Regions from separate parts of the Homo sapiens genome. Here region 2 is linked to region 1. The links are contacts of gene promoters, found by promoter capture Hi-C in blood cells and fetal thymus (Javierre and others, 2016). All regions are on one chromosome and are shown on one strand. The core of a region is centred on a gene start or on the middle of the fragment in contact, and the rest is flanking DNA. Distances in the headings are between cores, read along the strand shown.

Evidence for each region. The method cuts DNA at HindIII sites, captures the fragments that hold promoters and counts their contacts. A CHiCAGO score of 5 or more calls a contact.
Region 2: a contact is called between a fragment that was not itself captured here and the fragment with the promoter of DLG3 in region 1, in 1 of 17 cell types (naive B cells). The highest score is 5.2, in naive B cells.

What each region holds. Positions count from the first base shown.
Region 1 is chrX:70,443,301-70,446,313 of GRCh38, forward strand. It overlaps DLG3 (discs large MAGUK scaffold protein 3), which reads left to right and starts at 1,535. Exons shown (of 19, transcript NM_021120.4): 1 at 1,535-2,258. The coding sequence starts at 1,902. RefSeq lists an enhancer at 1,053-1,839. The HindIII fragment of the contact is 21,076 bases long and covers 1-3,013 here.
Region 2 is chrX:69,168,244-69,171,256 of GRCh38, forward strand. No RefSeq gene overlaps it. Among named protein-coding and RNA genes, the nearest start is that of PJA1, 4.3 kb to the left of the region's middle. The HindIII fragment of the contact is 172 bases long and covers 1,390-1,561 here.

The DNA.
Region 1 (3,013 bases), core at 285-2,784:
ATCTCTGAGGGCCGGGCACAGTGGATCACACCTGCAATCCCAGCACTTTGGGAGGCCAAGGTGGGTGGATCACTTGACGTCGGGAGTTCGAGACCAGCCTGGCCAACGTGATGAAACCCCATCTCTACTAAGAAAATACAAAAATTAGCCGGGCGTGGTGGCAGGAGCCTGTAGTCCTAGCTACTAGGGAGACTGAGAGGCAGGAGAATCGTTTGAACCTGGGAAGCTGAGGTTGCAGTGAGCTGAGATCACGCCACTGCACTCCAGCCTGGGTGACAGAATGAGAATCCATCTCAAAAAAAAAAAAAAAAAAAAAAAAGAACCTCTGTATCCCTAATACCTAGGTCAAGGTCTTGCACAGAGCAGGTGCTCAATGAATATTTGCTGAATTGAACTGAGATGTAAATTCTGCAGGAGAACTTAGAATAGACCTGTCGTACTAGAGTGGTTCACAGCGTGGACTCTGGAGTCAAATAATCAGGATTTGCATCCTGATTCTGTCACTTCCAGCTGTGTTACCTAGCTGTGTTAACATCTTTGAGCCTCAATTTCTCATTGGTAAAATGAAGATAATAATAGCATCAGCTTGGTAGGATTTGGGTTTGCGTGTTATGCACTTAGGACTTTGTAAAGACCCAATAATTGGTAGCTAAAAACAAAACAAGAACTGCAAAAAAGATAGTCTTTCTTGTATGTCATCCTTCCTCCATTCCCCCGACAAGCTGAGCCAGGAGAGGGTAAGGAGATGTCCTTGGACAAGTATTCCTAAGCTCTATTCCAGACCCATAGAAGGGTTTCTCTCTCTTCAAATCCCTTCTTACCTTTTCACCTGTCCTGGACTTTCATCTTGATATCCTGAAGTTCCTTCCCCCATCATAACCATGCAGGGGTGGAGTGGAGGAGATAGGGGTTTGTGGGCCAGGGACAAGGACTTAGAGCTTTCTGTTAATCCCTGTTCTAGGGTTGAGTTCTTTACTGGTGATGGTAGAAGGTCAAGTGTGAGGTCACAGTAATTTCAGGGCCTAGAGACTGAGAGAACAATAGTCTTGTGTAGGAGGCATTGACAGGACAGCGGGCCTCATATGCTGCCTTCTTCTTTGGTCCCCTGTAAGAGAAAGCACCTCCCTCACCCTGCTCCAACGTCCTTTCTGTCCATCCTGCTACCTCGTCTTTACTTCTGGTGGCCCCAGCTCAGAGCAAGCCTGGGGACCCATTGAACATCTCCCTGCAACTCCCTCTTGGAAGTGGGGTGGGGTGGAGTGGGCAGAGGACAGGCTAAAACTGGCGATATAAGGGCACAAGATCGGGTGCCTGAGCTTTCTGGTGGCCCACGTCCTCTGCCCCCGCCCTTAGAGCCAACAGTTCCCTAGAGATTGGGGGAGCTGGGGCTGAGCCTGGGGGCGCCGCTGCCTCTGTTCCTTTAAGTAGCCGCTGTTTAGCATTCCTGCCGCCGCCGCTGCCGCTGCCGCTGCCTGCCTCTGCGCGCTGATTGGCTGGAATCAACTGAGAAGGGAGCCAGGGAGAGATGCTCTTGACTCCACTCAGATCCATCCTGGGGACCAGAGCAGAAGCGGTCCTCACAGCACCCATTCTCTGCTTGAGCTCCCGCTTCTTCTTTGCCGCTGGGCCTCGGCCCAGAAGCCACGACGGGCGACACGGAGCCGCCAGTGCTGGAGGGGGAGCCGTGGGTGCGGGGCAGCGTGGGGGCCGAGGCCCCGGGACGCCCGCCCGGCCCCAGGCCCCGCTCAGCCCGGGCGCCCCCACGGGTGCCCCCCCCTTCTTGGTCCGAGCAGTGTGAGTGTGCCAGGGAGCCCGGCGGCGGCGGCGGCGGTGGTGGCGGCGGTGGCGGCGGCGTGGAATCCGGCGTGGGCTGGGGGGTCCGAGCCGCGGGGGGCAGTGCCATGCACAAGCACCAGCACTGCTGTAAGTGCCCTGAGTGCTATGAGGTGACCCGCCTGGCCGCCCTGCGGCGCCTCGAGCCTCCGGGCTACGGCGACTGGCAAGTCCCCGACCCTTACGGGCCAGGTGGGGGCAACGGCGCCAGCGCGGGTTATGGGGGCTACAGCTCGCAGACCTTGCCCTCGCAGGCGGGGGCCACCCCCACCCCTCGCACCAAGGCCAAGCTCATCCCCACCGGCCGGGATGTGGGGCCGGTGCCTCCTAAGCCAGTCCCGGGCAAGAGCACCCCCAAACTCAACGGCAGCGGCCCCAGCTGGTGGCCAGAGTGCACCTGTACCAACCGGGACTGGTATGAGCAGGTATGGACCAGCGGAGGGGGGAGCGGTGGGGCAACCCAGGAGGGCTGGAGAGTGGGGGCCTAGAGGCCTGGGATGCAGTAGGGGTCGCTGGGGCTCCAAGCCTGTGGACCCCGAGCCCTAGCATTGCAGCTGGGCAAAGAGAGGCGGTGGGAAATGTGTGGTTCCCTGTGTGTGTCTGTTTGGGGGTCTCCATTAGAAGACTGGGAGGAGCCGTGTGTCAGGGGGTAAGGGCATGGCGGAGGGGCACATTTTCCTGTGTGGGGGAATTGGGTTTGTCTCAGTGTGGGGGTTTGGCAATGTCTCTGTGTCTGGCAGGGGGCGGGAGGTTCTGCGGGGGCTGTGTGTGGTGTGTGTCTCCACCGGAGGGGAGGGGAGGGGGCATGGTGCTCTGCGTAGGGGGGACATATGTGTGTGTATGTATGTTGGGGTGTGTGGAGGAAGGCAATGGAGCTGCCGTGAATCCGTGTGGAGGAGCCCATGTGCCCGGCTCGCTGAGCTTCATCCCTTGATGCCATGAGTCCCTCTCCGTCCCAGTCCCTTTGTGTGTGAATGTGCACATGGATGTGTGGAGATGTCACTCTGAATGTGGAGAGGTCTCTGTAGAGGAGGCTGCAGGGATGGCTGTGTTTGTGTGTGTGGCTACATGTATATGTGTGTGAGCATGTGGCTGCAAGAGTGTGCACGCGTGTGCCTGGTGTGTGTGTGTGAGTGTGTGTTTGTATGTGTTGTCTCTGGTGAGAGGCGCTTGACAGGCA
Region 2 (3,013 bases), core at 226-2,725, 1.3 Mb before region 1:
CGTCTTGTTCATGTTTGTGTGTGTGTGTATGTGTATATATATATATATATATATATATATGTGTGTGTATATATATGTATGTATATATGTGTATATATGTATATGTGCATATAAGTGTATGTATACATATATATACAGATATATAATATATATTTACATATATATATCTGTGACCAATACACAATTTTGTTTCATGTATTTAAATTATACAGATGGTATCATTATAAATATATACTTTTGCAACTTAGATTTTCACTCTGTTGTTTTTTGAAACTCAGCAATTTTGATACCTGTAGATCTGAGTCATGCATTTTAACTGCTGAATATTACTGTATCAATTATCCAATACATTACTATAACATATTATTGTATGGACTTCTTTTGCATAAGTTATCCAATTTATCTCTTTTCCTACTGTTTCTGTTTTGTGCAATTATAAGTGAGGATTCAATGAACATCCTAGTGCATGGCTCCTTGTGCCTACATAGAAGAGTTTCTTCAGGGCAGAGCTTCCCAACTGAGTTATAAGTGTTCTGATATATTGATCCCCTTAGCTCTCCAGGAAGGTAGCTTTGGCTTCAGCAGCTGCCCCTAGAGACTGTTGCCTCTGGCCAAGAGCACACTGTCTGTTTATTCCAGTGAGCTGATAGCATTTTAAATATATGTTCTGATGTGAAAAGGATTGAAATAAATTGCTCTAGTATGGAAACATTGAAGTAGAATTTCTTGGTCAAAGAGTATGTAGTAGGTATCTATTGCTGTGTAACAAATTTCCCTAAAACATAGCAGCTAAAAACAACAAACATTTATCATATCAGTTTCTATGGGTCTGGAATCCAGGCATGGCTTAGTTAGGTGCCTCTGACTCAAACTTTCTTACGAGGTTGCACCCAAGCTCTCATCTAGGGTTGCAGTCTCATTTGAAGGCTCAAGTAGGGTAAGAGGTCCACTTCCAAGCTCTTTTACATGGTTGTTGACAGGCCAAAGAAGACCCATTTCTAAGCTAACTCATGTGGCTGTTGTCAGACTTTGATTCCTTGTCGTGTGGACCTATCCGTAGGCTTCCTAAGTCTCCTCACAGCATGGTAGCTGGAGAGAGAGAAAGAGAGAGAGAGAGAGAGAGAGAGATCCCAAGAGGAAAGATGCAGTCTTTTTATAACTTAATCTCAGAAGTGAGATCTCATCACTTTTGCCATATCCTATTCATTAAAAACAAGCCATGGAATTTGTTCATTTTATCTAAGTAATCAAATTTGTGGCCATAGAGTTGTTCATAATACTTTTTATTATCCTTTTAATGTCCATGAGGTCAGTAGCAATGGCTCCTCTCTAATTTCTGATATGAGTAATTTTGTTTACTCTCTTTTTTTCTGGGTCAGTCTGGCTACAAGCTTCTCAATCTTGTTGACCTTTTCAAAGAACCAGCTTTTGATTGTATTGCTTTTTCTCTACTATTGTTCTGTTTTCAATTTCATTGATTCCTGTTTTAATTTTTATTGCATTTTTTTCTGCTTACTTTGGGCTGAATTTGCTGTTTTATTTTCTAGTTTCCTAAGATGGAAGCTTAGATGATTTATTTAAGGTATTTCTTATTTTCTAATGTATGCATTCAATGCTACAAATTTCCCTCTAAGCACCACTTTTGCTGCATCCCACAAATTTTGGTAATTTATCTCAAAATATTTTAAAATTTATCTTGACACTTCTTCTCTAACCCATGTTTTCTTTAGAAGTATATTGTTTAATCCCCAAATATTATGTGATTTTCCAGCTACCATTCTTCTATTGATTCCTAATTCAATTTCATTGTGGTCTGAAAGCATACTTTGTATAATGTCTATTCTTTTAAATTTGTTGAGGCATGTTTCATGGCCCAGGATGTAGTCAATCTTGGTGAATGTTCAATGTGAGCTTGAAAAGAATGTGTATTCTGCTTTTGTTGGATGAAGTTGTCTATAAATGTCAATTAGATCCAGTTGATTGATGGTGCTATTCAGTTCAACTATATCTTTACTGATTTTCTGCCTGCTGGATCTGTCAATTACTGATTGAGTGGTGTTGAAGTCTCCAACTATAATTGTGGATTCATCTATTTTTTCTTGAAGTCCTATCAGTTTTTGACTCATGTATTTTGATGCTCTGTTGTTAGGCACACACACATTAAAGATTGTTGTGTCTTCTTGGAGAACTGACTCCTCTTTCATTACATAACACCCCTATTTATCCCTAATAATTTTCTTTGTTCTGAAATCTGCTGTGTCTGCAATTAACATAGCTACTCTGGCTTTCTTTTGATTACTGTTAGTATGGTATATATTTCTGAATCCCTTTACTTTTAGTTTGTCTTTAGAAAGTTGGTTTCATGTAGATAACATATAGTTAAATCTTGTTTTTAAAATCCATTCTGACAGTCTCTTTTAATTGGTGCATTTAGATCATTCACATTTAAAGTGATTATTGATATAGTTGGATTAATATTTACCATACTTGTAACTATTCCCTATTTGATGCCCTTGCTGTTTTTTTTTTTTTTTTTTTTTTGAGATGGAATCTTGCTCTGTCACCCAGGCTGGAGTGCAGTGGTGCGATCTCAGCTCACTGCAAACTCCACCTCCCAGGTTCAAGTGGTTCTCCAGCCTCCTGAGTAGCTGGGATTACAGGCGCCCACCACACCTGGGTAATTTTTGTATTTTTTTAGTAGAGACAGGGTTTCACCATGTTGCCCAGGCTGGTGTTGAACTCCTGACCTCAGGTGATCCACCCACCTTGGCCTCCCAAAGTGCTGGGATTACAGGTGTGAGCCACGATGTTCAGCCCTTTTTTTTTTTTTTTTTTGAGATAGGGTCTCACTCTGTCACTCAGACTGGATTGCAGTGGTGCGATGTCAGCTCACTGCAGCCTTGTCTCCCAGGCTCAAGTAATCCTCCCACCTCAGCCTCCTGAGTAGCTGGGACTACAGGCACACACCACCATGCTCAGCTAACTTTTTAACTTTTTTGTAGAGATGAGGCCT